Regions from separate parts of the Homo sapiens genome. Here regions 1, 2, 4, 5, 6 and 7 are each linked to region 3. Evidence: promoter capture Hi-C in 16 types of primary human blood cells and fetal thymus (Javierre and others, 2016). All regions are on one chromosome and are shown on one strand. The core of a region is centred on a gene start or on the middle of the fragment in contact, and the rest is flanking DNA. Distances in the headings are between cores, read along the strand shown.

Region 1 (2,700 bases), core at 99-2,598, 1.4 Mb after region 3:
GGTTGCAATGAGCCGAGATGGCACCACTGCCCTTCAGCCTGGGTGACAGAGTGAGACTCTGTCTCAGACAAAAAAGTAAAAAATAAAAATAAAAAATTATGTATTCCAAATGTGATTACATTTGCAAGACTCTTTAGAAAGATGCCAACAAATAACTGTTTCTGTAACAAGGACTACTGACCATTGAGAATCCTCATTCCCAGTCCAAACAAAGGGCTTGAATCTTTCTCTCCCCAAAAAAGGAAATACACCAGCATCCTCATTCCTCACCCTATGTAACTCCAATGTAAAATTATTTAGATGAGAAAATTTTTAAGCATTTTCCTCAAATAATGTCTCTGATCTCATTTATTTATTCTGCTTCGACCAGCAACAGCACTATTTATAGGTAACCAAAAGATACCTATAAATCAGCTGTAGCTGACCTGGGTTGGCTTCATTGCTATGGGTCTTACTATGGAATCTTCATTGTATAGAGAAGGCCAAAAACTACTAAGATTGGCTAAACCAATCTTCTTAGCCATAAGGAACTGAAAACAAGGAACAGGCTGAAATTTCATCTGTATCTGGTCCCAGAAAGGACCTTAATCCACAACCCAAAAATGTCAGGGGAAAAGAAATTCTAAATATAAATCCCATTGACTCTTGAGACATGCAAATCATCTCTTCCTCTCTATTTTTCTCTCAGAAACAACTATGCAATTATACTTTTCTTAAATAAATTCCAATGGGATCATAAAATTTAAAGAAATTTAGATTTCATGAGATGACAATAAATTTAACCCTGATCCAACTCTGTCAAGGAGAGTGGTGGAGCAAGATGGTGGAATAAAAAGCTCCACCGACCATCCCCCAACATGCACACACAAGGAGTTAACAACTATCTACACCTTCATAAGGACCAAATATCAGGTGAGCATTCATAGTACCTGGTATTAACTCTGTCCATTATATTTACCAAATGAATAGAGAATTTCAAAGATCTATGTACAAGATGGCAGTAGATCAAGACCAAGGTCCAATCTCTCCTTCTTAGACTGTGATGGCGAAAATAAAATATCAAGGAGCAATGAGATTACAAATAAAGGAAAATATGCAAAGCTACAGATCATAAACAAACAATGCAGACAGTTATTTTCTTTTTTTTTTTTTTTTTTTTTTTTTTTGATACAGAGTCTCACTCAGCCGCCCAGGCTGGAGTGCAGTGGCGTGATCTCGGCTCACTGCAACCGCCCTCTCCCGGGTTCAAGCAATTCTACCGTCTCAGCCTCCTGAATAGCTGGGATTACAGGCATCCACCATCATGCCCGGCTAATTTTTGTATTTTAGCAGAGCCGAGGTTTCCTCATGTTGGCCAGGCTGGTCTTGAACTCCTGACCTCAGGTGAACAGCCGGCCCCGGCCTCCCAAGGTGCTAGGATTACAGGCGTGAGCCACTGTGCCCAGCCTCAGCCTGTTATTTTCAATACTTTCATTAAGTCAGGCAAAAATAAACCGTCTCTTGCCTAATCCTTCTACCAGTGTTCTTTTCTCTTGCAATTTATGGACAAGTTCAAACTGAAGACATATCCTTTCCAGGATTCTTTTTTTTTTTTTTTTTGAGATGAAGTTTCACTCTTGTTGCCCAGGCTGGAGTGCAATGGTGAGATCTCAGCTCACTGCAACCTCTGCCTCCCGGGTTCAAGTGGTTCTCCTGCCTCAGCCTCCTGAGTAGCTGGGATTACAGGTGACTGCCACCACGCATGGCTAATTTTCTGTTTTTAGTAGAGATGGGGGTTTCTCCATGTTGGCCAGGCTGGTCTCGAACTCCCGACCTCAGATGATGCTCCCCCCGCCCCACCTTGGCCTCCCAAAGTGCTGGGATTACAGGTGTGAGCCACCGCGCCCAGCCAACATATCCTTTCATTACTATTGTTTTTCAAACTTTAAAGCAAATATTTTATTTGGATCACATAAAAACTAAAGGATCATTACCATGAATGTGCTAAATTTTTGAAAAATAAATTTTTTTTATAAAAAAAGGTACATTTTATTTAAAAGGCATTTGAATGATAGAGGAATATAACAGAGGTAAAACCTGACATTTTAAACTACAGAAGATTGCATGATCTTTTACAAAATAAATAAATTGTTGGCTGGGTGCGGTGGCTGACACCTGTAATCCCAGCACCTTGGGAGGCCAAGGCAGGTAGATCACTTTAGGTCAGGAGTTCAAGACCAGTCCAGCCAACATGGTGAAACCCCACCTCTACTAAAAAATACAAAAATTAGCTGGGTGTGGTGGTACCTGTAATCCCAGCTACTCAGGAGGCTGAGACAGGAGAATTGCTTGAATCCAGGCGGCAGAGGTTGCGGAGAGCCGAGATCACACCACTGCACTCCAGCCTGGGCGACAGAACAAGACTGTTGCAAAAAAATAAATAAGTAAATAAATAAGTAAATTTTTAGCAAGCATTAGATATTTCAGAATAAGACATAATCCTTCCACAATGAAATACTTTCTATGAAAAAAGAAACATCTCAAATAGGGGAGTCCCTTTCCCCCAAAAGACATTTCTTGAAAAACCAGGATTCATTGTGTATGTGTGTATGTGTGTGTGAAATCTTTCACTAGCACTCTGTTTTAGAAAAGAGGTTTTAGAGGAATTTGAAGATTTTGCTTTCCAATATAAATTTCACAGACAACTCTTCTTTCGGCTTT
Region 2 (2,700 bases), core at 136-2,635, 1.5 Mb after region 3:
TGGCATACCTGGTGGAGAGAGGCCTATCCTTCAACAATCTCCATTCACATGGCCTGGTCACAACGTCCCAAAGAGACAGTGTCACCTAACTTTTACAATTGAGATGACTGATCATGACATCCAATTACAACACTTTCTCCCCCCTTCATTTGGAAAAGTGGGAGCCAGGCTTCTATTGTTTAATAAAAATGTTATTACTACAAAGTAGTACATGTGTGTATTTCTTCTCCAAAGAGCAAATAATAATTTTGAAGAGCACCTCTTGCTTTCACTCCCTTTATTCTACTTACTAATTTGTATTTAAATGTGTCCGGAATTGGTGGGTTCTTGGTCTCACTGACTTCAAGAATTAAGCTGCGGACCCTCGCGGTGAGTGTTACAGTTCTTAAAGATGGTGTGTCTGGAGTTTGTTCCTTCTGATATTCGGACATGTCTGGAGTTTCTTCCTTCTGGTGGGATCCTGGTCTCGCTGACTTCAGGAGGGAAGCTGCAGACCTTGGCCATGAGTGTTATAGCTCATAAAGGTGGCGCGTCCAGAGTTGTTCGTTCCTCCAGGTGGGTTCATGGTCTCGCTGGCTTCAGGAGTGAAGCTGCAGACCTTCGTGGTGAGTGTTACAGCTCATAAAGGTAGTGCGGACCCAAAGAGTGAGTAGTAGCAAGACTTATTGCAAGGAGCGAAAGAATGTAGCTGGCACAACTTGGAAGGGGACCCCAACGGATTTCCGCCACTGGCTCGGGTGGCCAGCTTTTATTCCCTTATTTGGCCCCACCCACATGCTGCTGATTGGTCCATTTTACAGAGTGCTGATTGGTCCATTTTAGACAGTGCTGACTGGTCCATTTTTACAGAGTGCTGATTGGTGCGTTTACAAACCTTTGGCTAGACACAGAATGCTGATTGGTGCGTTTTTACAGAGTGCTGATTGGTGCATTTACAAACCTTTAGCTAGACACAGAGCGCTGATTGGTGTGTTTACAATCCTCTAGCTAGACAGAAAAGTTATTCAGGTCCCCACCCAATTAGCTAGACACAGAGCACTGATTGGTGCGTTTTTACTGAGTGCTGATTGGTGTGTTTACAAACCTTTAGCTAGACACAGAGCGCTGATTGGTGCATTTACAATCCTTTAGCTAAACCGAAAAGTTCTCCAAGTCCTCACCCGACCCAGAAGCCCAGCTGGCTTCACCGCTCAACAACGTCCCAAAGAGACAATGTCACCTAACTTTTATAATTGAGATGACTGATCATGACATCCAGTTACAACACTTTTCCCCCCACTTCATTTGGAGAAGTGGGAGCCAGGCTTCTATTGTTTAATGAAAATGTTACTACTACAAAGTAGTACATGCGTGTATTTCTCCAATGAGCAAATAATAATTTTGAAGAGCACCTCTTGCTTTCACTCCCTTTATTCTACTTACTTTTTTTGTTTTGTTTTGAGACAAAGTCTAGCTCTGTCACCCAGGCTGGAGCACTGTGGCACAGTGTCAGCTCACGGCAGCCTCTGCCTCCCAGGTTCAAATGATTCTCCTGCCTCAGCCTCCCAAAAACTGGGATTACAGGTGCACACCACCATGCCCAGATAATTTTTGTATTTTTAGTAGAGACAGGGTTTCACCATGTTAGCCAGGATGATCTCAAACTCCTGACCTCAAGGATTCCACCTGCTTTGGCCTCCCAAAGCGCTAGGATTACAGGTGTGAGCCACCACACCTGGCCCCCTTTATTTTAAATTGTGTAAATTATCCTCTTGGAATGGAACTCCCCAACCATGGATGACCAATTCAAGTGACACTAGTGACAGTTTTTCAAGCCCATCTTTTTTCAGGATAACCCCGTGGCAAGTAGCCAAATGTTTCTGCCCACAAATGCAAGATGTTCCAAGGGTAACCTGGTATAGTCATTAATTCTAGACTGCATGTCAAACAACAGATAGCTTTCTGAAACCCAAATTTGGGTTTTCCATCAGTCCCATCCACTTTTCTGTTTCTACAGCCATTCAGAGATTCCGAGTTACCAGTACACAACAGAGGAGAAAGTAGAGGAGGATGGGGAGAAAGGCACAACATGCTGGGATGCTTTGATACCTGAGGAACAGCACTGTAAGCAGGTGTGGAGACAACGATAATTCAGGAAGTTGGCCAGGCGCGGTGGCTCATTCCTGTAATCCCAGCACTTTGGGAGACCAGAGCCGGCAGATTGCTTGAGGTTTGGAGATCAAGACCATCCTGGGCAACATGGGAAAACCCCTTCTCTACAAAAAAATACAAAAATTAGCCTGGTGTAGTGGCACGAGCCTGTAGTCCGAGCCACTTGGGAAGCTGAGGTGGGAGGATCACTTGAGTCCCGGAGGCAGAGGTCGCAGCCAGTCTTAGATGGCGCCATGACACTCCAGCCTGGGTGACAGAGTGAGACCCTGTCTTAAAAAAAAGAAGAAGAAGAATAATTCTGGAATCAATTCAAGACAGGTTGGTGGGCAACGGAGAAGGGTAAACATCAAATGGTATCTGTGGCCCTAGCTTAATCACAGTATCAGGCAGTTAAGACAACAGACTAGAAACCTCAGTGCAGCAAACTCTTGCTAAATTCAGATACAGACTCCATAAACAATTTGCCATTCAATATAAGACTGAGGGGGGGGAAATGCCAGCATCCAAATGAACAGAGTAAAAAGAACACCACAAAGAAAATACTTACAC
Region 3 (2,700 bases), core at 59-2,558:
ACTATTGCCCATATGTAAAAGAGCAACATATTTTAAGCAGGACCCTGGTGAGGAAAACAAAACCAAATCGAAACACTGCATGTGTGTGTTGCTTATTTAACTGAAAATGTTCATAGACCCACAAATCTGAGATGCTGGACTTTTGGATGAGTCCAGCATTTTGCATCTTAGTGTAGGGGGAGGGAACAACAAGGGGCTTAGTTGCTTAACCCTTGCCATGCCTTCATGATTGACTTATTCAAAACATTTTTAAAATTCTGAAAGCAAAGGAAAATGTGCTGCAAACACCCTTCCAGCTATCTTTCCTTCCAGCTTACACAGTCTCTCCTCTGTCCAATCCTTCCCACCCAGCAGCATTTCAGAGGTATTCCCTGTGAGGTACAAAATTTCTCTTTGCCCATTTTTCTGCACCTCTTTTTCTCTCTCTTTGGTATGTGTCCACCAAGCTCATAGAGGTTTAAGTGATGAAATATTATCACCCACATGGGTTTGCGTGGGACTTTCTTAGTGAATTACTCAGGCAGAGCAGGCTGTGATACAGCCTTGCTCACAAGCCTCGGGAGGGAAAAAATAGCACAGAGGATGAAAAGAATATTATTAGAGAGCAGGTAATGAAAGGTTCGCAAAGCAACCAGCTATATCTGGTTAGCTAGGTAATAGTGCAGGAACCTAGGTCGCACCTGTACAAACTAATGCAGAACCTGCTCACGGCGCACTATGGGAAGACATTCATTTCAAGAGTTTACAGCATGAGATATTTGAGTAAAACCTGAAACTGATTAGAAATTGATCCTGAACATCCCAGCCTTAGTCAACCTTCCCTTTTTCAAATTGTTATGCATGGAGATTGGAGGATTGGGGCATCTTGAAAGTGTCACTGCAGTATAGCAATCTCTCTCAGGTAATATAGAGATAAAGGGAATATAATAAATTGACCTGTTATTTATTATCTTTTTCATACCTAGGACATTCCGAGGCTTAATATATTTCTGAAGCCTACAGCCCTGATAAACATCAATCCCACGTCAGTTTCCAGCAGTCTCATCTCCCCACACCCTTCTGCAATGAAAGCTAATGTAAAAGAAAGAAATATGCACTGCTTAATAAGTCAGAATACAATAGAACTTGTAAAATGTACCTGCATATAAGGTAGACATTAGGAAGACTTGAATCTCTCTCTTCCCCCTGTTCTCCTGAGCATTATGGCAACAGCATTTTCATGAAATTAGATCTGTTTTATATTTTTTCCTGATAAAATATCATGCAATATACAAATAGCAGTTCCAGAAATGGACACCAGGAGAAGGAGGCGACAGGCATGTCAATTAGTAGGGGGAAAATCCAAATGTCAGAAATATGGGGGAGAGAGAAAGCACGCAGGCAGTGGATGCAAATACAGGGAACAGAGTCTTTCAATTCAGATAATTAAACGGATGCATAAATCAGCACCCTTGCCTCTCTACAATACGCAGGCGATGCCATGCAGTTAATTATCAGCCAAGACCAGCATGAAAGTCATTTTATGATGACTCTCTGATCCTAATATAACAGCACCTGACAGATTGAGCCCCCTCTAATGAGTACTCTCTTTGTACAATCCTCTCTCAGGAACACTAAATCATTTGCTTCCAAGTACAGCTGCCTGTGAAGAAGGGGTGGGGCTAGATCATGCATCAGAAACCTGCTCTTGTGAAATCAGGGGCTGTCCTGTAGGCTGTGTGACTGGAAGCCAGCAGCCTCAGCCTCTCTGGCCCTAAAAAAGCAATTTGCACACGGCTGTCCCTAATTCTAGTCAGCCAAGTAACCCTCCCTCGGCACCCCCACCTAAACATCTGTAGTCAGCCTTGGGTGTTATTCATGGAAAGTCCACTGCATGCGGGTCAGCACTGCTGTCCATCGGCTTCACCCTGACCCCTTCTGGCAGGTGTGGATGAGAGTAGAGCAGAGCTCATGGGGATGAGTTACCCCAAACCTATTAAGCCTCCCTATCCGGGGCACTAGTCAGACACTCCAGTTTTACACTCTTTCCTAGAAAAACAAAACCCAACCTTGTGCCCTCTGGGTTCTCTAATTTAGCAGCTACTATCTGTCTGTTTTTGGAGTGACACCCTGTGCAGTTTAGGATTTCAGAAGCTGTCCTGCATAGAGGCAGAAGGGAAAACAGCAGGTATCTTGTTAACATTCTCTATGGGGCAAGGCAGATGTGCCCAAGCTGGAGGAAACCTGCACACCCTCCAGGCTAGTTATCCAAGGCTTGGGAGGTTTCCCTCGGCCTTCTCCTAAGGCCTTGGCAGGACCCTGCCACCCTAAAATCAACTGCTGATTGCCTTTTTAGATTTAAATGATTAAGCTCTGCTTATGGGAATCTTCTTCTCTTTTATTTTGTTAAGAAACAAACAACAACAACAAAACCCACACCAATTCTTAGCAAAGGGGAATATCGAATTCAGATTTTGAAAAAATAAGTCATCATGCTTCCTAAAATAAGACAGCTTCTCCCTCTAACTGCTCTCTCTGCTCTGGTATTCTATCTAATCATAAACCCAGCTTTATTATTCATTTCAACTCCTGCCAAAGACATGAGGTCGGAGTCAGAGGAACTCCCCTTACCACCGCCACCATCATCATGGCCAGCATCCTCGTAAGTTTATAGAAAGATGCCAGAGAACCTTTCCTATCCATCTGCAGCCCTGCTTGGCC
Region 4 (2,700 bases), core at 6-2,505, 1.4 Mb after region 3:
CTTATTCCAGTTGATTTATAATTTTACTGGCCAAAAGAGCTTAAATCCTGTACCTTTAGAAACTTCATTGTGTGCCTGCCCTTTCAGATTATCTATAAACATGTTTAATAAAGAGGCCCAGCAGAAATCCCAAGAGGGACCTCACTGTTTACACATCTCCCTCAACAGCAGGCGCATACATTCTACACTTTTTTTTTCTCTATTAATACCTACCTGTGGTGAAATTTCCCTCCTAATACCATGGTAACACAATTTGGAATAGCATTGTGAAACTTTTTGACTCCTTGAAAGTCTAAACAAATTGTTTCTTGCTTTTTTCCTGGTGCTTGTTTACCCTTTCAAATAGCTCAAGTATATTATAAAAAACAGGATGCTTTTCTCCATTCATTATACAAAATGGTCAATGATCCTACAATTTCTGGAGTTTACTAATATGAATGAGATTCAACAGTCAATAGATTGTAGGGTCTCCTCAGTAGGTTTCATTAGAATGTAAACAAGAATTCACTAATACTGAAGAGTGAGTGCAATAACTTATTTCACATTTAGATCCATTTATTCCCTTGAGTTTCTTCAGACCCTCATAATGGATGTCATAAAGTTTCAGCAATTTACTTATATCCATCAGGCCAATCAGGCAGAACATCCTGTTCCCTTATCACTATTTGATCTAATACTACATACCTCACCTCTTTGCTTCAAAAGACATGATGACAGTGGAAAGTTCTACATTTCAACAAAGACCAAAGTGAAGAATTCATTGAGTTTCCAGATCTCCTTTTTTCCCCGTGAGCACCCTGATCATCAAGCAGTCTCATTGATTCTCCAGTCGACCTTCTATCTTTCATGTATAAAAACGCTTTTATTTCTGAATTGCAGTCCTTTTTGTGCTGTGTCTTGAATTCCTTTATAGCCGGACTGGCTCCTTATTTACACCTGACCTGTCACACTTTGAGGTCTTCCCTGTTCTCACTTGAACAATCTTTTGCCTACTTTTTCCCCCTACTTTTGCTTCTTTTACTTTATGAAATGGATGCAAAAGTCTTTATATGAGCTCCTAATCTTTGATATGACGTATTCCCCTGCCCTTCTATTAATGTATTTAAAGCATTTCCAGATTTCTTACAAGTTACAGACTTTTAAAAATATTACTTTCATTTTTTAACTTAATGCACACGTTGATTTGATCATAGTTCCATTCTCTTAAATTGAGGAATAATGTGATAGGGTTTTTTTTTTATTTTTGGCCTTTATTTCCCTTTAGAAGGTTAAGTGAAATTGAGTTGTGAGCCTTATTACAATAATCACAGATTATTTCCTGTACCAATCCCTGCACAGTCCTAGGCCCAAGTCCAGTATAATTCCATTCCTTATGTAATTCTAACACTTCTTGCCCTATGTGGCAGATACTTATGCACAATCTTTTTTCAGTTGTATAGTGTGATTTCTCTCATACTACTTACTACTATTTGTTCTAATTTTCCAGTGTTCCCAATGTAATTTCACTATCCTTACCATATTGAGTTGGTTTCTGGCAGATAATCTTAACCTAGGGTCCAGGAATGAGTTCTAGGAAGTCTAAGAAGCTCCTGATATCCCAGGCAAAAATCATGCATGTATATCAATATGTGTACTTTTCTAAGAAAGGCTTTCATAGATTTCATCAGTTCCTCAAAAGAATTACAGGCAACAAGAAAGTTTAAGAGCCACTGGGCAAAAAAGGGCGGTTCCAAGATGGCCAAAGAGCAACAGCTCCAGTCTACAGCTCCCAGCGTAAGTGATGCAGAAGACGGGTGATTTCTGCATTTCCAACTGAGGTACCAGGTTCATCTCACTGGGACTTGTTGGACAGTGAGTGCAGGACAGTGGGTGCAGCCCACCCAGCGTGAGCCAAGGCAAGGTGAAGCATCACCTCACCCAGGAAGCGCAAGGGGTCAGGGAATACCCTTTCCTAGCCAAGCGAAGCTGTGACAGATGGCACCTGGAAAATCGGGTCACTCCCACCCTAATACTGCACTTCTCCAATGGTCTTAGCAAACGGCACACCAGGAGATTATATCCCACACCTGGCTCAGAGGGTCCCACGCCCATGGAGCCTCACTCATTGCTAGCACAGCGGTCTGAGATCAAACTGCAAGATGGCAGTGAGGCTAGGAGAGGGGCGCCCACCATTGCTGAGGCTTGAGTAGGTAAACAAAGCGGCCAGGAAGCTCGAACCAGGTGGAGCCCACCGCAGCTCAAGGAGGCCTGCCTGCCTCTGTAGACTCCACCTCTGGGGGCAGGGCATAGCCAAACAAAAGGCAGAGAAACCCCTGCAGACTTAAATGTCCCTGTCTGACAGCTTTGAAGAGAACAGTGGTTCTCCCAACACAGAGTTTGAGAACTGAGAACGCTAAGACTGCCTCCTCAAGTGTGCCCCTGATCCCTGAGTAGCCTAACTGGGAGGTACCCCCCAGTAGGGGCAGACTGACACCTCACACGGCTGGGTACCCCTCTGAGACAAAGCTTCCAGAGGAACAATCAGGCAGTAACATTTGCTGTTCAGCAATGTTCACTGTTCTGTAGCCTCCACTGCTGATACCCAGGCAAGCAGGGTCTGGAGTGGACCTCTAGCAAACTCCAACAGACCTGCAGCTGAGGATCCTGACTGTTAGAAGGAAAACTAACAAACAGAAAGGACATCCACACCAAAAACCCATA
Region 5 (2,700 bases), core at 40-2,539, 1.6 Mb after region 3:
CCGAGGCGGGAGGATAACTTGAGGTCAGGAATTCGAGACCAGCCTGGCCAATATGGCGAAACCCCGTCTCTACTAAAAATACAAAAATTAGTTGGGCGTGGTGGCGCATGCCTATAATCCCAGCTACTCGGAAGGCTGAAGCAGGAAAATCTCCTGAACACGGGAGGAGGAGGTTGCAGTGAGCCGAGATCGCGCCACTGCAGTCCAGCCTGGGCGAGACAGCGAGACTCCGTCTCAAAAAAAAGAGAAAAAAAGAAAAAAGGAAAAAAAAGATTCATAGTGGATTACCATTCCCAAATTCAGAGGGAGTAAAGAAAGTTCTATAACACTGTAGTAAAGCTAAATTTCATCCTCTAAATAAAATTCTGCAACAGGTAACTGTACAAGGGCATCTTTTATTGTACATGAAGTGTCAAGTTATTCAAAGCAGCGGGCTAAAGTCCTTTCTGAAATGTGGCTTGGTGTGCATTTTCGAAGTTACTTAAACTTGGCGGACGAAAGGACAGGAGTAAAGAGGCCCCAAACGCGAGCCGCGGGACGCGCAGGAGCGGGACCCCACGGCGCACGGAGCCCTCGGTCACAACAACGCACGGGACAGAGGCGACCCTGGGCGGCCAGAGCGGGGCAGGCCGGCCGCAGGCCCACGGAACGGGGTTGCAGGGAGGCGAGCAAAGCCACCGCTAAGGGGTCAGCAGAGACTTCAGACCCTAATTGCTCTCCTCAGGGCGCCCGAGGAGGCAAGCTGGGGCAGGGATCCCTTTAGCCACCCAGACCGAATCTCGGAGGGTACCTGACTGCGGGCGGCCAGTCCACAGCCCCCTCCCGCCGCCCCGGCCGGAGAAGAGGCAGGTTCTGCGCAGAGCTGCCACCCTCGCCAGCGTCGCCAGCATCGCGTGCGTCTCAGATGGCATCGGTCCCGGTGCAAGCGGCGAACTCCGTGCGGCGCCACCCGCCGCCACTGGGGGGCGCCCACGGACGCCGCAGACCCCGCCCCCGCCGGGCGGGGCTGAGCACTAGTCGCCTGCTGGGCCAGCTTCTAGTCTGTCGGTCAGACCAAGGGCACTCAGACTGGAAAGGTTGTTGCTGGGCTTGGGTGTCCGTCCTTTCCTGTCTCCTTTTCTTCCTCTTTTCACTTAAATCCACTGAGTCTCTCGCCAAGTCAGTGATTTAGGTAATCCCGCCGCCCCTGGCGGAACCTTTGTGACGCCGGAACTGATGTGCCGTAGGGTGGCTGCGGTCGGAGGACTGTTTTGGTAAAGGACTAGCAGTTCTCTGCGGAGGGCCGGTTGATACAGTTCCGGTGGGAGAACGCGGCTGCGAGGTTTTCGGCTTTGGCTCCTGATATGCAGCGACAGAATTTTCGGCCCCCAACTCCTCCTTACCCTGGTCCGGGTGGAGGAGGTTGGGGTAGCGGAAGCAGCTTCCGGGGAACCCCGGGCGGGGGCGGACCACGGCCGCCCTCCCCTCGAGACGGGTACGGGAGTCCGCACCACACGCCGCCGTACGGGCCCCGGTCTAGGCCGTACGGGAGCAGTCACTCTCCGCGACACGGCGGCAGCTTCCCGGGGGGCCGGTTCGGGTCTCCGTCCCCTGGCGGCTACCCTGGCTCCTACTCCAGGTCCCCCGCGGGGTCCCAGCAGCAATTCGGCTACTCCCCAGGGCAGCAGCAGACCCACCCCCAGGTAATAATAATAGCCAGCGTTTGCCGAGCTCTTACTTTATGGCAGGCACGGTACTAATATTCCCTTTACGTGGATTATTTTGTCTAATCCTCTCTGAGGTACTATTGTTAGCCCAATTTTGCAGATGAGCGAACTGAGGCTTAGAGAAGTTGAGTGACTTCCGGAAGATTATCCGAAAGAGTGGCAGAGCCGTACGTTCTGTTTTCGAGCCCTCGTGCTTTTAACCAATACACTGCCACCCGTACACAGATTTTCCTAATTCTCCATTTCCTCCTGTTTGCCAAAGGCCTTGCCAGTTTGTTTCAAGAAATAGTTCTTTTTCTTTTTTTTTTTTTTTTTTTTATCTTTCTTTCGAGCTACACTGGCTTCTGCTCCAACTTCCCTGAAAAGAAAATCGGTGGTAGTGGAAGTTTTCCATTCCTTTAGTGAGAGTAAATACAAAAGACAGAGAGAGTATCTCTAGCATGTCTGGGATTTCTGTGGTTTACAACTTGCAACTACGTGGTTTTCCAACTTGCTGTATTCTACACCAACCCCCTACCCCTTTTGAGCCTGGAGCTAAGGAGTAAAGAAAATGTTCATGAGCTAGAAAGGTTCTAGAAACTTTAAAACTATAGTATTGTTTTCTCCTGAAAAAAGTGAAAATTTCGAGGGAAAATTGAATATAATTACTTGATTTCATCACTGCTTGTATTTAATTACTGCAAAGTTACTACATTAGACACAAAAGTATTTGAGATGACAGTGGTCATGGAATTATAAATAAATGAGAATAACGAATTGCTTTAAGTACTTTTTTTAAAAAATAGGAACACTTGATTAAAGGAAGCATGGACTTTGTAATTGAACATTATTTAGGTTCAAGTCACAACTTTTAAGCAGCAATGTGATTCCCGCTAACCTTTAGCTAAAGGAAGAAGTACCAATTATCTTTACTAAGTGTTTTTTTAACTGATTTTTTTTCTAAAGGGTTCTCCAAGGACATCTACACCATTTGGATCAGGGCGTGTTAGAGAAA
Region 6 (2,700 bases), core at 182-2,681, 1.4 Mb after region 3:
ACAGTTTCTGGTTAATTTAACAATGCCCTTCACCACAGAACTACTTCAGAATCTAAGCTTTTTGCGCAGCATATTTTCCAACTGACAGCTAAGCTAGCTTTTAAATTTTCATTTTTCAAAGTGCCGAGATTAATAATGCATCAACAGGGCCAGGCACAGTGGCTCACACCTGTAATCCCAGCACTTTGGGAGGCTGAGGTGTGCGGACCACCTGAGGTCAGGAGGCCGAGACCAGCCTGACCAACATGGTGAAACCCCATCTCTACTAAAAGTACAAAAACTAGCCGGGCGTGGTGGTGGGCACCTGTAATCCCAGCTACTTGGGAGGCAGAGGCAGGAGAATCACTTGAACCTGAGAAGCGGAGGTTGCAGTGAGCCGAGATCACAATGCCACTGCACTCCAGCCTGGGTGGCAGAGTGAAACTCCGTCTCAAATCATCATCATCTTCATCATCATAACGCATCTATGGGAAGTGAATATGATTTAAAAGACTGGTATGTAAACTCTGGAACCAATATGTGACCAGCGGAATCTAACTTGAGGTTCATGTCTATGGCCATTGGAATGTCCCTCTCTGCTGCTGCTTCCTTTCAGGACAAGGGCTTCAGATGAAGAGCTCCTAAACACTCCTAAAGACTACCAGTTACACAGGTAAGCTGCTGTTATTCACTTAGTCCATATCTTCGTTGCCTCAGTTGTGTTCATTGTATCCACACAGTTATCAAGCCTTAAAGTTCTGTCTAGGCCAGACGCGGTAGCTCAAGCCTGTAATCCCAGCACTTTGGGAGGCTGAGGCAGGCGGATCACCTGAGGTCAGGAGTAGGCAAGACCAGCCTGGCCAGCATGGTGAAACCCCGTCTCTACTAAAAATACAAAAAATAGTGGGGCGCCATAGTGCGTGCCTGTAATCCCAGCTACTAGGGAGGCTGAGGCAGGTGAATCGCTTGAATCTGGGAGGCGGAGGTTGCAGTGAACCAAGATTGTGCCACTGCACTCCAGTCTGAGCAACAGAGCGAGACTCCAACTCAAAAAAACAAAAAAAAAAGCTCTTTCTAAATCACTGTATGTTCTTTTAGTCCCCTGTCCTGAGGTAGCCTGTAGAGCAAAGACATTAAGTACAGAACTATCCCCCAGACAAGCCAAGAAAGTTGCTACAATTACAACTTCAGTTTTGATTAAAAATTATTTGGGGAAAGTCAATGCCATTTAATTTTAGGAGTATCAAATGATAGTATTAGTGGAACCATCCAAGAAGCCTCTCTACATAAGAGACACACCTTGCAGGTTTACCCTAAAACACACTTTCTTTTTAAATTGTAACCCCTGGGTCTACTGCATCAGAGTTATCTGGGGTGCTACTCCAAAATGCAGATTCCTGAATCCTGCCCCAGACTGAGTGGATCTCAATGCTTGCGTGTGAGGCCCAGGAATCAGTTTTTCAAAAAGCTCACTGGTACTTTTATACATCATAAGTTCATGAATTATTCTGTGGGACAGCAGTTTTCAAACTTTGCTGCCCATCAGAATCATCCGGAGAGATTTTTAAAACCTCAGTACACAGACCATGCCCTATACCAGTTAAATTAGAATCTCTGGGGATGGGAAAGAGACAGCAGAAATTCTGAAAACTCCACAGGTGATTCCAATGGGCAGCCAACGTTGAGCACTGGTGTTGTGAAGGACCAAGGTACAGCTTAGAGACCAAGTTGAGTCCTCCTGAGCGTCAAAGCACACTCAACTTGAGACTTTTAACAGTAGCAACAACAACAAAATGGTTAATACTCACTTTTTCATAGTGACAATAAGACCTAACAAGCTGCCATAAAAATCTTAAGTATGGTATAAACACAGAAAAATTCTCATTACCAAATATGACTACATACAATTAAAAAAAAAGTTTTCAACACTTTTAAACAAACAAAAATGCAAATCATTAATTCCAGCCTCCATTGACAGAAAACTTATGCTCTAAATACAGCTCTGAACCTGTCTTCTAGATCGGTTTCATTAAATAATATGATGAAGTGACCAATATGGTTTTTTTCATGACGTTACATACCAATCTGCAACAGCTTGGGGATAGTTAGAAAATACAGAAGTAGAATGTGTATCAGAATAAACTAAATTTCAGATTCATTGAGCTGATATCTCAAGTCAAGAGCTTCTGTAGTTAAAAGACTGAAAGATGGATGCACCTGATTTTCCCTCAGGGGCTTACAAGATAAGATAGTGCATTATTAAACCTGACAAAACATATCTGACTATACCGCACCAGAAACTACAGTCACAGAATTTTAAAAGTATGTCTTTACTTAATGAAGTACAAATTTCAAACTCAAACTGGGCCTACAGACTTAGCAGAAGGCAAAAGGAGAATGTACTCATTTTACTATTGTGACCTGGCTTGAGTTCAATAGAATCAAAGATATAAAAGAATTACAGAGCTGTCTGGTGGAAAGGAAATCATCATTTCATAAAGGACTCAATGACTTACATGATTTCAAATCATGCTTTAAGTGTCTGCCGCTTCCTTTAAAGAAAACCTCAAAATGCATCTGAATTGTCGTCTATCCTGTAAGTGTGGTTCAGTTTCAGGAAGAACTGATTGAACTGAAAATAACTATCCCACCAAGAAGACAGTGTTTCTGGAACTTTAAAAAATACAGACTCTAGAGCAAGGCTGAAATTTCTTACAATTG
Region 7 (2,700 bases), core at 1-2,500, 1.7 Mb after region 3:
CTCCTTGGACGACTTAGTCCGGCTGCGGTGGGCCTTCGAGTCCCGGTCCTTGCGGCTGCTACTGCTGCTGGATGTGGCCGAAGCGCTTTTCCGGCGGCCGCCGCTGCTGCTGCTGCTGCCGCTCTTGGCGACCTCGGCCCGTTCCTCGCCGCTGTGGCTGTGGCGGCTGCGGGACTTGGAGGCCTCGCTGCCACCGCGCTGCCCATCCCGCCGCCGGTGCTCGCGGTGGCGCTCCTTGCTGCGGCCACTGCTGCTGCGGCGGTCCCGGCGGGGCCTGCGCTCCGACCCCTCCCCGCGCCGCTGGGTGCCGGAGGAGGAGGCCGGACTCCCGCCGCTGCCCCCCGTTCCCCCGGCAGCCGTCGCCGCCGTTGCCGCGCTGGCCCCCCCCAGCAGCAGCCCCTGCTCGGACTGGGAGCTCACATCCTCGTATTCCACCAGCGGGGTCACACCCCCGCCGCTACTAGCACCGCCACCGCCGTCCTGCTGCGGCTGGGGCAGCGAGAAGACCCGACGCTTCTCCGCCTCCTGCCCGGCGCGGGGCCCGCGACGCCGCTTCTGCCGCCCTCCTGCGCGCCTCTTGCCTCTCGCCAGCCGCTTGACCTCCAGAGGGGGGCCCGGGCTGAAGCAAGAGGAGGAGGCCGCGGCGGCGGCGGCTGCGGCGGCGGCCGTGCCGGGAGCAGCCAGGAAGAGCAGAGGCGGCGGGGGCGGCGGCGGTTGCAGGAGCTGCGGCTGCAGGAGCGGCAACAGCAGCGGCGGCTGCTGAGGGGACAGGAATCGCCTCCGCTTGCGGCGTTCCTCCAACTTCTTCTCCGCCCAGCTCAGGCCCCCGCCTCCCCCCAGCGCCGTGTCCGAGCTGCTCGGCATCGCCTAGAGCCAGCCGCAGAGCGCGGCGCGGGTGCGGCCTCCTCCCGGGTCAGATCCTGGCCATCTCCCCCGCCGGAAACGGGAGCGGCGGCGGAGGGACACCGAGCACCAGAGCCGGCCGGGAAAAGCGCCACGATAATCCGGGTCGGGACTCGGGTCCCTGGGTTCCAGGTCACAGTGGGGTACGCAGCAGCCTCCGGGCCCCAGGGAAGCAGGAATCCGGGCGGCGGAGCTCCCGATTGCGCTCGTCGTCCTATCCTCGGCAGCGAAAACACCAGATGCGCCGGGCGCTGACCTGCGGGGGAGTCCCGAGTCCTCCAAGTGCCCCCGGGGGTGGGGGAGCGGCCTTGGCCGCGCTCTCGGCTCGGGCAGCGCAACGCGGAAGTACCACCTTCGTCGCCGCTTCACTCCATCGCGCCCTGACGTTGGGTGCAAGTTCAGGGGAGGGGAGTGGGCGAGACAACAACACGCCTCCACCGCCTCCTCCTCGGCGTCGACGTCGTCCTCCTGTGGTGGCGGCGACACACCGCAGGCGCCTCGGAAGTGGCCTGGGCCTGACAACAACTCCCGGCCTAGGGCCTCGCGCACTCTGCGGCCCGCGGGGCTGGGCAGCGGGGCGGGGCGAGGCGGGGGCGACCGGGCTGCGGCTCTCGGTTGGGGCAGCGACTGTGCGGGGCTGGGCGGGGGGCTATTTCCGGGGAGATGGGGGCAGGGGCGTTTCTGAGTCTGTGGCGGTAGGTACGGGCCCTGACTTTCTTCTTCTTTCGCCGCCGCCGCCGCCGCCAGCAGAGGTGGCGGAGCTACCCCTTTCCTCCGCTCCCCCCCTCCACGAGGAGGCTCCTGGTGTGCGCGGCCTGCCCCGGCTCGCTCCTCCCCTTCCCTCTCCGCTCCTCGTCAGGAGGAGGGAGAGCAACGGGACTTGCTGGTTGGGCCCTAACCTCCACAACCCCTCCTTCTCGCCTCGCTCTTTCGGCTTTTCCCCTCAGCCCTGACGTACGACCGGGAGCGCGCCCGCAATTCACGCTCAGAGAAAGCCGAAGATGAGAGGTGGCCGGGGCAAGAGAGGCGGGAACAAAGTTACCGCGCACTGGCGTGCTCGCTCCCGCCAGGGGCCGGCAGGCCGCACCGGAAGTGGCATGATGTAGAAACCGCTCGGCTTCCGGCGAGGGTGGGACTCCGTGTGAAGAAGGGTTAAAGAAAGGAGAGGATTCGTGTGCCGCCCACTGCTGTTGCTTGAGACTCTGCCCGTGGTGGCGCGCCTGTCGTGCTTGTTGCTTGCGTCCAGCGCGCAGTGCCGGTTCCGGCTCTGCAGACGCCGCACTGCCTGCCTGTTGAGCGAAAGGTCACAGTGAGAACAAGTGTTTCTGGAGACTGCGAGGGAAATAATGCTGTTGGTGGCCTTCTGGAGTAGGCAGTTACCCCCCGTGTACCTTCAGTCAAGCCCTGGGAGTGGAACAGCTGCGAAAGGAGAGAAAACACCCCGCAAAACAGGGTGGAGATGGCGTTGGTTTAACTTGTCTCACGTACGCCAAAGTTCGAGGCCCCATTTTTTTTTTTTTTTTTTTTGAGACTGAGTTTCGCTCTCGTTGCCCAGGCTGGAGTGCAATGGTGCGATCTCGGCTCACCGCAACTTCCGCGAGGCCCCTTCTTATCCTAAAAAACACACTTGGGAATCACAGCTCAAGCTTCGGTAACACTATTTACTTTAAAATAAAAATTTTTAAAGCTTTAAATCAATACAGGAAATAAGTGGAATGTTAAAAGGAACTACTGAAAATTCCAAATTCTCAGGAGGCTTGAAATAAAAACATCTTGTGCGAATGAGGACTGCCCTCT

What was found. The method cuts DNA at HindIII sites, captures the fragments that hold promoters and counts their contacts. A CHiCAGO score of 5 or more calls a contact.
Region 1: a fragment that was not itself captured here is called in contact with the fragment with the promoter of INHBA-AS1 in region 3 in 2 of 17 cell types (monocytes and fetal thymus); the score reaches 6.1 in monocytes.
Region 2: a contact is called between a fragment that was not itself captured here and the fragment with the promoter of INHBA-AS1 in region 3, in 2 of 17 cell types (megakaryocytes and naive CD4 T cells). The highest score is 5.9, in megakaryocytes.
Region 4: a contact is called between a fragment that was not itself captured here and the fragment with the promoter of INHBA-AS1 in region 3, in 1 of 17 cell types (total B cells). The highest score is 5.8, in total B cells.
Region 5: the fragment with the promoter of MPLKIP here is called in contact with the fragment with the promoter of INHBA-AS1 in region 3 in 2 of 17 cell types (neutrophils and monocytes); the score reaches 8.5 in neutrophils.
Region 6: a fragment that was not itself captured here is called in contact with the fragment with the promoter of INHBA-AS1 in region 3 in 1 of 17 cell types (neutrophils); the score reaches 6.3 in neutrophils.
Region 7: the fragment with the promoter of CDK13 here is called in contact with the fragment with the promoter of INHBA-AS1 in region 3 in 1 of 17 cell types (neutrophils); the score reaches 6.0 in neutrophils.

The regions. Positions count from the first base shown.
Region 1 is chr7:40,254,127-40,256,826 of GRCh38, reverse strand. All of the region lies in intron 7 of SUGCT (succinyl-CoA:glutarate-CoA transferase), which reads right to left. The region is part of intron 2 of LOC105375245 (a long non-coding RNA gene); the gene reads left to right. Among named protein-coding and RNA genes, the nearest start is that of SUGCT, 120 kb to the right of the region's middle. The HindIII fragment of the contact is 4,040 bases long and covers 1-2,700 here.
Region 2 is chr7:40,216,952-40,219,651 of GRCh38, reverse strand. All of the region lies in intron 6 of SUGCT (succinyl-CoA:glutarate-CoA transferase), which reads right to left. Among named protein-coding and RNA genes, the nearest start is that of SUGCT, 83 kb to the right of the region's middle. The HindIII fragment of the contact is 3,437 bases long and covers 1-2,700 here.
Region 3 is chr7:41,692,527-41,695,226 of GRCh38, reverse strand. INHBA-AS1 (INHBA antisense RNA 1) reads right to left here and starts at 1,308. Exons shown (of 4, transcript NR_027118.2): 1 at 1,139-1,308. All of the region lies in intron 2 of INHBA (inhibin subunit beta A), which reads left to right. The HindIII fragment of the contact is 8,944 bases long and covers 1-2,700 here.
Region 4 is chr7:40,338,914-40,341,613 of GRCh38, reverse strand. All of the region lies in intron 9 of SUGCT (succinyl-CoA:glutarate-CoA transferase), which reads right to left. Among named protein-coding and RNA genes, the nearest start is that of SUGCT, 210 kb to the right of the region's middle. The HindIII fragment of the contact is 2,505 bases long and covers 3-2,507 here.
Region 5 is chr7:40,133,211-40,135,910 of GRCh38, reverse strand. It overlaps MPLKIP (M-phase specific PLK1 interacting protein), which reads left to right and starts at 1,289. Exons shown (of 2, transcript NM_138701.4): 1 at 1,289-1,682; 2 at 2,652-2,700. The coding sequence starts at 1,344. SUGCT (succinyl-CoA:glutarate-CoA transferase) reads right to left here and starts at 906. Exons shown (of 14, transcript NM_001193313.2): 1 at 791-906. The coding sequence starts at 890. RefSeq lists silencers at 834-1,033, 1,494-1,563 and an enhancer at 1,214-1,283. The HindIII fragment of the contact is 4,548 bases long and covers 1-2,700 here.
Region 6 is chr7:40,292,294-40,294,993 of GRCh38, reverse strand. The region is part of intron 8 of SUGCT (succinyl-CoA:glutarate-CoA transferase); the gene reads right to left. LOC105375245 (a long non-coding RNA gene) reads left to right here. Exons shown (of 3, transcript XR_927196.3): 2 at 596-652. Among named protein-coding and RNA genes, the nearest start is that of SUGCT, 160 kb to the right of the region's middle. The HindIII fragment of the contact is 2,743 bases long and covers 60-2,700 here.
Region 7 is chr7:39,948,806-39,951,505 of GRCh38, reverse strand. CDK13 (cyclin dependent kinase 13) reads right to left here and starts at 1,250. Exons shown (of 14, transcript NM_003718.5): 1 at 1-1,250. The coding sequence starts at 864. CDK13-DT (CDK13 divergent transcript) reads left to right here and starts at 2,087. Exons shown (of 1, transcript NR_158201.1): 1 at 2,087-2,700. RefSeq lists enhancers at 1-42, 1,183-1,462, 963-1,881, 1,933-2,182, 2,253-2,382 and 2 more and silencers at 253-312, 383-672, 1,463-1,692. The HindIII fragment of the contact is 3,453 bases long and covers 1-2,551 here.